Regions from separate parts of the Homo sapiens genome. Here region 1 is linked to region 2. Evidence: promoter capture Hi-C in human tissues and cell types (Jung and others, 2019). All regions are on one chromosome and are shown on one strand. Each heading gives the region's core, a stretch centred on a gene start or on the middle of the fragment in contact. The rest is flanking DNA. Distances are from core to core; before and after follow the strand shown. Region 1 overlaps LOC105372323 (a long non-coding RNA gene). Region 2 holds the start of ZNF43 (zinc finger protein 43).

Region 1 (5,969 bases), core at 2,488-4,987, 230 kb after region 2:
TCTTCACAATGCCTGGGAAAGAAGAGATAAGGCTCACTAGCCACAGAAAAACAGGCAGTTAATTTTTAAAGGACTCCAGCTCTTTCTCTTTCTCATACATACAACCGAGTTTCTGTTTACACATTCTTTAATTTCTTTTTATTCCTGTTCCATTCCTCCCTTTGGTGCTTTTTATAACAAAGATGTTAACAGAAAGCACCACTATCTGTCACCTCTTCACAGGGCTGTGCTTCTTCTTCTACTGGCAGTGGCTGATAATCTTGTTAATGCCATCAACTGCACGGTAGTTTTTTTGGTTACTATTGCCTCTATAGTTGACTGAATACTCCTAATAAACAGAGGTAAAAGGCAAGGGAGGATGAGGCAGATGCCAAAAATAAGCAAGAACCCACCAATGAGGGTTTTAATTTTTTTTTTTTTAAGGTTGAGAACCATCCTCCAAACAAGGAATCCAGGGACCACCCAGATCAAGTTTGAACTGGAACATAGGTGAACTCGTGCATTCTAGCTGTGATTTCCATGACAGCTCGGTCATTATCATCAATTTCTAGGCAACAGTTGGTTAAATTAAAATTTTCACATACTCCTCCTTCTGAGGCTAATAGGTAATCTAAACCCAGCCTATTTTGATATATGGCATGCCTCATTTGTGTTGCTTGTATTGCCAATAAATCTAGTGCCCTTGAGGTTTCATTGGTTATAATTTCAAGGACTGCCTGCAACCTTATGATGCGGTTGAGCATATAGATTGGGGTACGGTACCTCCATGACCCATCTTGCGCCTAGGTAGCTGGCCCATAACATTTAATGATTCTTTCAGGAGGCCATTTATTATCTTTCTAGTTTCCTATGTCCACATCTTTTTTGATATTTGTGTCTCTTTTTGTTATTATGCTTCTAGTTGTTTTTTTATTTTTATCATAAACTGGATACCCTAAGAGTTCCTCTTGCTTTAGAGGAATTAGAAAGAATGATGGCTTGATTGTTCCTAACGCACATGCCCCTGTCCATTTAGCTGGCAGTTGCTGATATGCCTGTGCTCCACAGATCCAATATAGGCCAGAGGGTGCCTTTCAAGAATTTGGAGCCTCTAGCTGATGCCAAGTGTGGCTTAGAGTAGAGAATTGAGAGAAAGGGTTTGGATCTCCATAGAGTTTTGTTTTTAGTCTCATCACAATACTGTTGCCCTAGGCAGGTTGTTTCTCACACTGCCTCTGTGAAAGCCTTTCCTCATCGGGTGATACAGTACTTTCCAATTATGGAGGTAGTTGACAACCAAACACTGGCTGAGGCTGTTGGTTCACTGGCAGTGTTAAGTGAAGGGATCTTGTGGCATTAATTCCTTTGCCTCCCATGGCCACTGGTCTTCCATATTAGTTCTTCTACATACATAGCATGAGGAAATTCCTAAGCTGCCAGCTATGTTTTCAGCTAGTTGAGCAAATAAGTTTTTGGTTGATGGGGGGAAGCTTCAGCATTGACTGATCAAAATGCTTATAGAATGACTTATGGACCTGGAATTGTGGGGTTGGATACATTTGAGTCCTTCTAGTCTTTTTGACAATTAGTAGTGGAACTCCAAGTTCTGCTCCTTGTCTATCAACTCATAATAGTGTCATCTGTCCTGTAGACCAAGAAGGTAGCTCTGGCTTTAAGATAGTAAAATTTAAAGGATTGTATGTTCTTGTCTTACAATCTGGTTTGGTTGACATACTAATTAGCAGAGCAGTCCTTCCTGAATGTAAGTGTTGGAGCTGTGTTAGCATAGACCACTGAATGTTCAGTCTCGACATCTGATTTGTGGTTTTCTGTACAGATGTTTAGGACTGTTGCTGCTAAGTCTCTCTTGTGTTAAACTATTGCAGACTGTTTCCGGTTGTATGTGCAGGTTCCTAACTTTGTTCCTGTACATTCATAGTCAGTAACGTACAGTAGAGGTTTAACTAGGGTATTCCTTATCCAGGTAGTGTGTACACAGTGTGGGCATTCTTCTAGGGATTTCTCCCCTTCTAGTATAGGCAGAAATGGTAACAACGTCAGTGTATGTAATAGAAACATGCTTACACTACACATGGGCATGGCAAACCTTCCTCTGGGCATAGACGTTTGCAGTATTTGCAGTAATAACATAACAACAGAACAATCAGTATTGACAGAATTATAACTAGGCTTATAAATTGTATCCACATTTACTTATCCGGAGATTGTCCCCTTAGCTTTGGCTGTGCGTAGACTAGTCAGCTTCCAGGATGTGACTAGAGCAGAGCTTACAGGATCCTCAAGCTTCAGCCGTGCATAGACTGACCAGCCTCCAGTGTGGTCAGAGCAGGGCAGTTGTCCTTCTTACCGGTGGTTGGGTTTCACCATGGGACTATTCGGGTGGGGCAATCTGGGTCTTGTTGGCTAATCCACTGTTCGTCGTTGGGAGTCACTGCTGCCACTGGTTTCAGCCGACTATGGTGAATCCAAGGTGTGAAACGTGCAACTTTAACAGCAGTGGGACTAGGCATGATCACGATATGGGGCCTATCCTATATGGGTCCTAGTGTGGTTGGATTCCATTTTTTTTCCTTTTTTTTTTTTTTTGAGATGGAGTCTCGCTCTGTCGCCGAGGCTGGAGTGCAGTGGCGCAATCTCAGCTCACTGCAAGCTCCACCTCCTGGGTTCACGCCATTCTCCTGCCTCAGACTCCTGAGTAGCTGGGACTACAGGGGCCCGCCATCATGCCGGGCTAATTTTTTGTATTTTTAGTAGAGATGGGTTTTCACCGTGTTAGCCAGGATGGTCTCGATCTCCTGACCATGTGATCCACCTGCCTTGGCCTCCCAAAATGCTTGGATTACAGGCGTGAGCCACCACACCCTGCCTCCATTTTTTAACTTAAACAAAATCCTTAGGTTTGAAAGGGTGTACTGGGTCTGTTTGACTTATAGGCATTTTTTTTCTATACCTAGCCATGCATTTTTGCATGGCCATACTTAAAGCCTGAATTTGCCTTCTTAAAGTTAGTTCTTCTAGTTTACAGAGATTACCTTTAATCTGACTTATGATGGGGGGTGGCTGGCTGAATAAAATCTTACAGGGCGAATACCCAGTTGTTTGGTGGGAGTGCACCTGACTCGGAGGAGGACAACAGACAAGACCTGATCCTACTTTTGATGAGTTTGACAAAATTTCTTCAGCAGCTGTTTGAGTGTCTGGTTTATGCACTCCACTTTACCTGAGCTCTGCGGCCTGTAGGCTGTATGTAATTTCCACTTTATTTTAATAGTCAAGTAAAGTCCTGAACTATTTCAGCCACAAATGTTGGTCCATTGTTTGATCTTAGAGTTAGAGACAGTCCAAATCTGGGAATAATGTCTTTTAACAACACCTTGGTCACCTCTAGTGCCTTCCCTGTCTGGGTGAGGAAGGCCTTGACTTATCCTGAAAAGGTGCAAATGAACACCAACATGTACTGATAGCCCTCCCTCTCAGGGCAATTAGGTGAAGTCTATAAGCAGTTTTTCACAGGGCACGGCTCCCTGGCTCCTGTTTCCTGAACTCCCAGGGGCGGAGTAGGCCCTCCTTGTCATGGATTGTTCTGAGTGCAAGTTAAACACTGTTTGTTTACAAATGGCTTGAGTAATAGCAGTGAGCCATGGTGCATAGAAATGATGCCTTAATAATGTCTTTAGTGCTGTTTTTTTTTTTTTATGTGAGTTCTTTGGTGGAATTGTTTTACAAATCTGGAGGTCACCATTTCTGGTATGGCTAGCCTCCCACTGGAGAATTTTTACCATCTTCCTTTAGTGTAGTTCTTATTTTTCTGGGCAAAACAAGCCCTTTCACTTGGAGCATAGCTTGGGATCTCCGGGAGGGGAATCTCTGGGAAGAGAAGCATAGCTAAGACTTCCTCTTTAGAAGGTGGAGTTGTCATTGCAGCCTGCTTTGCCTCTTTGTCTGCTTTTTTATTTTTATTTTTTTAGCCTTTAGTGTTCTTCCTTTTTTGGTTCCCCTTGCAGTGCATCACTGCCACCTCTTTTGGGTCCTATACAGCATTTAAGAGCTGTAGAATTTCTTCCTTGTACTTTATTTCTTTACTTTCAGCAGTTAAAAGTCTTTTTTCTTTGTAAATCACCTCATGAACATGCAAAGTGGCAGAAGCATATTTGGAATCTGTGTAAATATTTGTCTTTTGGTCTTTTGCTAGCCAGAGAGCTCTTGTCAGAGATATTAGCTCTGCTTTCTAAGCAGAAGTTTCTGTAGGCAGAGACTGCACCTCTACTACTGAGTCCAAAGTCACCACTGCATACCCAGCTCGGCAGACTCCCTTTAGTGATTTTAGTGAAAATCACTGATTTTCAGCAGCCTCAGGGTTAAATGGAGTGCACAATCAAAATGCCTTACAAAGTCTTTCATAAAACTTTAGTATGAAACTGCTTCCATCAGTAAAATATTTAATGTCCAGTTTCCCTGAGGGGCTATCAAATCTCTCTGGCTTGAGAAAACTTCATCTATCATGTTGACACAGAAATGAAAGGGGTCTCCTGGCACTGACTTGATGAGGAGCAATGTAGCCAGGTTTAGGCTATTCACAGTCTCTAAAGTCAGTTTATTAGCTTCTTGCACCAGTAGGGCAGTGGCAGCTAGTGCTTTAATAGCTTTAAAACAAAGAGGCCATCCAAGTGCCACAAAGTCTAATTGCCTGGATAAGTATGTCACTGGGTGATGCCATAAACTTATGGCTTGAGTTAGAACCCTTATGGCCTCCCTTTCACTTGTGGACATACAAGAAGATAGGCTTAGTTAGTTTATCCGGCAGTCCTAAAGCTGGGGCCTGAGTCAAGCTTTTTTGATTTCTTTAAACCCCTTCTCCTGGGAGCGTCTCTGCCCGGCCGCCATCCCATCTAGGAAGTGAGGAGCGTCTCTGCCCGGCCCCCCATCGTCTGAGATGTGGGGAGCGCCTCTGCCCCGCCGCCCCGTCTGGGAGGTGAGGAGCGTCTCTGCCCGGCCGCCCCGTCTGAGAAGTGAGGAGCCCCTCCGCCCGGCAGCCGCCCCGTCTGAGAGGTGAGGAGCCCCTCCGCCTGGCAGCCGCCCGGTCTGGGAAGTGAGGAGCGTCTCCGCCCGGCAGCCACCCCATCCGGGAGGGAGGTAGGGGTCAGCCCCCCGCCCGGCCAGCCGCCCCATCTGGGAGGGAGGTGGGGGGTCAGCCCCCGCCCGGCCAGCCGCCCCGTCTGGTAGGTGGGGGGTGCCTCTGCCCGGCCGCCTCTACTGGGAAGTGAGGAGCCCCTCTGCCCGGCCACCACCCCGTCTGGGAGGTGTACCCAACAGCTCATTGAGAACGGGCCATGATGACAATGGCGGTTTTGTGGAATAGAAAAGGGGGAAAGGTGGGGAAAAGATTGAGAAATCGGATGGTTGCTGTGTCTGTGTAGAAAGTAGTAGACATGGGAGACTTTTCATTTTGTTCTGTACTAAGAAAAATTCTTCTGCCTTGGGATGCTGTTGATCTATGACCTTACCCCTAACCCTGTGCTCTCTGAAACATGTGCTGTGTCCACTCAGGGTTAAATGGATTAAGGGTGGTGCAAGATGTGCTTTGTTAAACAGATGCTTGAAGGCAGCATGCTCGTTAAGAGTCATCACCACTCCCTAATCTCAAGTACCCAGGGACACAAACACTGCGGAAGGCCGCAGGGTCCTCTGCCTAGGAAAACCAGAGACCTTTGTTCACTTGTTTATCTGCTGGCCTTCCCTCCACTATTGTCCTATGACCCTGCCAAATCCCCCTCTGCGAGAAACACCCAAGAATGATCAATTTAAAAAAAAAAAAAAAAAAAAGATAAGCTCCATGGCATCTGCCATGAAAGGCTCTGGCATCTGCCACGAAAGGCTCTACCCACATCAAAGGTGTTCCTTGCAAGACCACTGGACTGCCTGGCCCAGACCAGGAGATTCTTTTTGTCTCTGTTGCTCTTCATGGACTG
Region 2 (5,591 bases), core at 608-3,107:
TTAGATATGCAGGTTCACTGAGCCAGACTAAATTGTATTCAGTTGAATGCTTATCAAGGACTCAAGAATCCAGACTTTTATCTCTTATTTACTTATGACCTGGAAGCCCTCACCTCAAGTTGTCCTGCATTACTGGATCAAACCAAGAAAGAGAGAGAGGAAGGAGGAGGTGGAGAAGGAAAAAGGTAGGGAAGGAAGATCTTATACATATTGATTGATGTCTCATGCTTTCCTAAAATGTTTAAAAGCTGCTGGGCATGGTGGCTCACACCTGTAATCCCAGCACTTTGGGAGGCTAAGGCGAGCAGTTCACCAGGTCAGGAGACATCCTGGCTAACAGGGTGAAACCCTGTCTCTACTAAAAATACAAAAAATTAGCTGGTATTCATAGAAAATATAATTTTTAATTATCGAGTAATCTGAATAAATGAATATATCATAAAAAAATTAGCTGGGCATGGGGTCATGCACCTGTATCCCCAGCTACTTGGTAGGCTGAGTCAGGAGAATCGCTTGAACCTGGGAGGCGGAGGTTGCAGTGAGCCGAGATTGTGCCACTGCACTCCAGCCTGGTCGACAGAGCAAGACTCCGTCTCAAAAAAAAAAAAAAAAAAAAAAAAAAAGTAAGTGTAGGCAAATGTAGATGCAAATACACATCTGTTTACACAAATTCCTACTTTCAAAATCACAGAGAATGGTCACTTTTTAGCCTTTTTATGAATAAAATCCTGGATTCCATTTATTATTCCATTAGAACTTCTGTACCTATTTTGAAATTTGAGATTAAATTGTCTTTTGCTGAGTTTGCCCAGTTTATATTTCAAGTAATACTATATCATGGGAACACATTAGAGATTTTCTATATTTTTATGTTTTACATCAGTTTCTAAAACCTGGAAATTATCTTGTTTTGAATTTCTTATGAAAATGGAATACTATCCACTAAGAATATTCCATTAGCATACTGCAACTTAAAGTCAGGAGATCTAAACTTTTTCTGGTAACATTACCTATATTTAGTTTTTTAAAAAATGTTCTCTTTTTGTATATGCTTTTTAATTTGCTTTTAAAACATGTGCATAACATTTCCTTGAATTCTATTAATGGACCTCAATGCTTTAAAAAAATTTTTTGATAAAATAATTCAGTCTGAATGTGATGGTTCATGCCTATAATCCCAGTACTTTGGGAGGCTGACTTTGTAGGATTCATTGAGCCCAAGAGTTTGAGACCATTCTGGGCTATCTAGTGAGGCTTCATCTCTACAAATAAAAATATGATAACAAATTAGCTGAGCATGGGGCCACATGCCAGTGGTCCCAGCTACTCAGAAGGCTGAGACAGGTAAATTGCTCAAGCCTAGATTGCTGAGGCTGCAGTGAGCTGCAGTCATGACCCTGCACTCCAGCCTGGGTAACAGAGACTCCCTCTCAAGAATAAGAAAAACCCCACAGAGGATAAATAATAAAATATTCAATGTTTGTAATACTTCCTACTCAAAGGGCCAGAAGCCAGGAAGGTCATAAAAGCTGAAATTCAAAAACAATTGTTTTCATTTTTTAGTATCCATATAGTATATTACTTATAAGTGAAGATGACCTTATACACAAGGTTAAAGGCAAATACCCTCTGGGTTGGGCCTGCTCTGCTCAGGGAGGAAGCCCTGCCTGAAAAGGCGGCAGCCTAGGCTGTCATTCTTTCTTCTTTCAGCCCAGCGTCTGATCACATCTTTCATTCAGGGTTTGCGGGGGCAGGACCTTAGAAGTTATCCAATCAGGGACGCTGGGCTGGAAACCGTCCAATCAGGCACGGGGCAGGAGAGGACAGGGCGGCTTCCGGGATGTGGCGGGGCCTTTGTCTCTGGCTGCAGTTGGAGCTCTGCGTCTCGTCTTCGTTCTTCTGTGTCCTCTGCTGCTAGAGGTCCAGCCTCTGTGGCTCTGTGACCTGCGGGTATTGGGGGATCCACAGCTAAGACGCCAGGACCCCCCGGAAGCCTAGAAATGGTGAGAGTGCCGGTCCGACATCCCGAGAGGGGGAAGGGGCTGTGGCGTGACTCAGGCCTTCCCGCAGTCAGCTCCACAATCTGCGCGTGCCGGAGTTCTTGCCCAGCTCGGCCTCAATCCCCTTCAGCCATAAGATGGCGGCTGCTCTGGGAGGCAGCCCCGGGCGTCCTGTCTCTTCTCTGCGCAGTGACTGTGTCCCGGCCTGCAGCCCTCTGTGGGCAGCTCTGCAGCCGCAACGCGGCGTCTCTCCCAAATTGTGCAGGGGCCACAGGAGGGTCGTCAGGAGAGAATCCTGACTCGTGATGCAGTTTCATGAATAGGAAGAGCTTTGGTCCGTGGCATTTCTAGTCCCTCTTTTGGTCTATTAGAAACAGGAGAGTCGGCCGGGCGCGGTGGGTCACGCCTTTAATCCCAGCACTTTGGGAGGTCGAGGTGGGTGGATGACGAGGTGAGGAGTTCGAGAGCAGCCTGGCTAATATGGTGAACCCCGTCTATACTAAAAATACAAAAATTAGCTGGGCGTGGTGGCGCGCGCCTGTAATCGCAGCTACTAGGGAGGCTGAGACAGGAAAATCGCTTGAACCCAGGAGGCGGAGGATGCAGTGAGCCGAGATCGCGCCATTGCACTCCAGCCTGGGCCACAGAGTGAAACTCCCTCTGGAAAAAAAAAAAAAAAAAAACTAAACTAGATTTTCCTTTATTTCTGACATTCCCAAATGCCACCTTCTTCTCCGCAATTCACGTTATCAACTATTTTTTCTTTTTTTTCTTTTTTTTTTTTTTTTTGAGATGGACTTTCGCTTTTGCTGCCCAGGCTGGAGTGCAATGGTGCTATCTCGGCTCCCTGCAACCTCCGTCTCCCGGATTCAAGCGATTTTCTTGCCTCAGCCTCCTTAGTAGCTGGGATTACAGGTGCCTGCCACCACACCCAGCTAATTTTTTTTGTATTTTTAGTAAAGACGGGATTTCACTATATTGGCCAGGTGGTCTCGAACTCCTGAGCTCAGATGATCCACCCGCCTCAGCCTCCCAAAGTGCTAGGATTACAGCACTTAAAAATAGCCACCGAGCCGGGCTATTTTTTTTTTTTTTTTAGTGTACATTTTAGATACAGAGATACGTTTTAGATAAAGATATTTTAGATATCTGTATATTTTTGATACAGATATTTTAATTATTTTTTGAAAAATCATTGGATGGACTTAAATAAATTTTCCTTTCTTCTTTCCTTCTTCTTTCTTTCCTTCCTTCCTTCCTTCCTTCCATCTTTCCATCCTTGCTTCCATCCTTCCTCTCGCTTTGTTTCCCAGGCTGGAGTGCAATGGTGCAATCTCAGCTCATTGCAACCTCCCGGGTTCAACCGATTCTCCTGCCTCAGCCTCCCGAGTAGCTGGAATTACAGGCACCTGCCACCGTGCCTGGTTAATTTTTTTGTATTTTTAGTTGAGACAGGGTTTCACCTTGTTGGCCAAGCTGGTTTCGAACTCCTGACCTTGTGATCCACCCGCCTTGGCCTCCCAAAGTGCAAGGATTACAGGCGTGAGCCACCGAGTCCGGCCTAAATTTTGTTTTCTATTTGAAAATATTTTCCATATTGAAAAGAAAGCAAAAAATAATCCCCTTACACTGTTTGTAAAAAATAAAAATCTCTGTGCCTCTTTTCCTTTTCTTTTTTTCTTTACTTTTTTTTTTTTTTTTTTGAGACAGTGTTGCTTTGCTGCCCAGTCTGGAGTGCAGTGATGTGATCTCTGCTCACTGCAACCTCTGCCTCCCTGATTCAAGTGATTCTTTTGCTTCAGCCACTCCAGTAGCTGGAACTACCGGCACCTACCACCATTCCCAGCTAATTTTTGTATTTTTGTTAGAGACAAGGTTTTTCCATGTTGACCAGGCTGGTCTCGAACTCCTAACCTCAGATGATCCACCCGCCTCCGCCACCATGCCTGGCCTCTTTTTTCTTTTTGTTTTCCCTAGGCACAGGACTCTTTTTTTTCCCCCGCCCCGCCTTAAGATGGAGTTTAGCTCTTGTTGCCTAGGCTTGACTGCAGTGGAGCCATCTCAGCTCACTGCAACCTCTGCCTCCTGGGTTCAAGCGATTCTGCTGACTCAGCCTCCCGAGTAGCTAGGACTACAGGGATGCACTACCACGCCTGGCTAATTTTGCATTTTTAGTAGAGACAGGGTTTCCCCATGTTGGTCACGCTGTTCTCAAACTGCCGACCTCAGGAGATCCACCTGCCTCGGCCTCCCAAAGTGCTGAGATTATAGGCATGAGCCACCACACCCAGCCAGAGACTTTTTCAGAATGTTTTTAGGTCAAGTTTTTCCTTTCGAAAAATGTGGGTGATTTTTCCTCAGCCACACTTCATTTTGTTGTTTTTGTTTTTTTTTTCTGATCCTGGGTTTCAGTACTGTCTAGGGATAAACCAAGATAACCACCATGGCTATGTGTGCTACAGTGTCACAGCCTGGGTGTAGTGGCTCATGCCTATAATCCCAACACTTTGGGAGGCCGAGGTGGGTGAATCACCTGAGGTCAGGAGTTCAAGACCAGCCTGGCCAACATGGTGAAATCCCGTCTCAACTAAAAATACAAAAAAATTAGCTGGGTGCAGGGGCAGGCGCCTGTAATCCCAGCTACTTCGGGAGGCAGAGGCAGGAGAATCGCTTGAACCTGGGAGGCCGAGGTTGCAGTGAGCTGAGGTCGCGCCATTGTACTCAGCCTGGGCGACAAGAGGGAAACTCTGTTTAAAAAATAAATAAATAAAATAAAATAAAAATTATCATTTACCTTTCTCTTTCCCAGAGTGAGTTTAGGAATCTTCTCAGGTGTCTTTTATTTTATGGCTGGGTGATTTTCAACAGAATTCCAAGGCTTAGCTTTTAGAATGCTACCAAGGAAAAGAATAGGGAAAATCTATTTTATTTGGCTGTACAAAATTAATACATTTTTATAAGAAAACGTGGTATATAAGTGGTGAGTTACACAGATTCATAAAAACATCAGTTACTCTCTTTGCAGGGTAAATTTGTAGAGGTGATTATCTGTATTCTATATCCTATCATCTTGATTTCTGAGTTTAATGCTAAATTTTATGAGATGAAACTTGGTACCTCCTAGAAGTGTTTTCATATGACTAATTGTTTACCACATAATTTTTTTTTTTCAATTGACATGGAGTCTCACTCTGTTGCCCCACTAGAGTGCAGTGGCACAATCTCGGCTCACTGCACCCTCCATCTCCCAGGTTGAAGCAATTCTTCTCCCTCAGCCTCCTGAGTAGCTGGGATTACAGGCGTGTGCCACCACGCCCAGCTAATTTTTGTATTTTTGGTAGAGATGGGGTTTCACCATATTGGCCCGGCTGGTCTCGAACTCCTGACCTTGTTATCTGCCTGCCTTGGCCTCCTAAAGTGAGCCACTGCGCCTGGCTGGTTGTCTTGTTTAGTTAGTCTGTTCATAGTTTTCTTTGCTGTGCAGAAGCTCTGTAGTTTAATTAGGTCCCATTTGTCAATTTTTCCTTTTGTTGCAATTGCTTTTGGTATCTCCATCATGAAATCTTCTGGTTCTTATGTCTAGAATGATTT

Evidence for each region. Contacts are between HindIII fragments. The study calls those that stand out against the background at their distance.
Region 1: a fragment that was not itself captured here is called in contact with the fragment with the promoter of ZNF43 in region 2 in 1 of the 25 tissues and cell types used here (pancreas).

Annotation. Positions count from the first base shown.
Region 1 is chr19:21,606,369-21,612,337 of GRCh38, reverse strand. The region is part of intron 3 of LOC105372323 (a long non-coding RNA gene); the gene reads right to left. Among named protein-coding and RNA genes, the nearest start is that of ZNF429, 100 kb to the right of the region's middle. The HindIII fragment of the contact is 3,721 bases long and covers 1,877-5,597 here.
Region 2 is chr19:21,832,448-21,838,038 of GRCh38, reverse strand. ZNF43 (zinc finger protein 43) reads left to right here and starts at 1,857. Exons shown (of 4, transcript NM_003423.4): 1 at 1,857-2,003. The coding sequence starts at 2,001. RefSeq lists enhancers at 820-1,792, 1,904-2,063, 2,084-2,133, 2,174-2,263, 1,793-2,766. The HindIII fragment of the contact is 27,139 bases long and covers 1-5,591 here.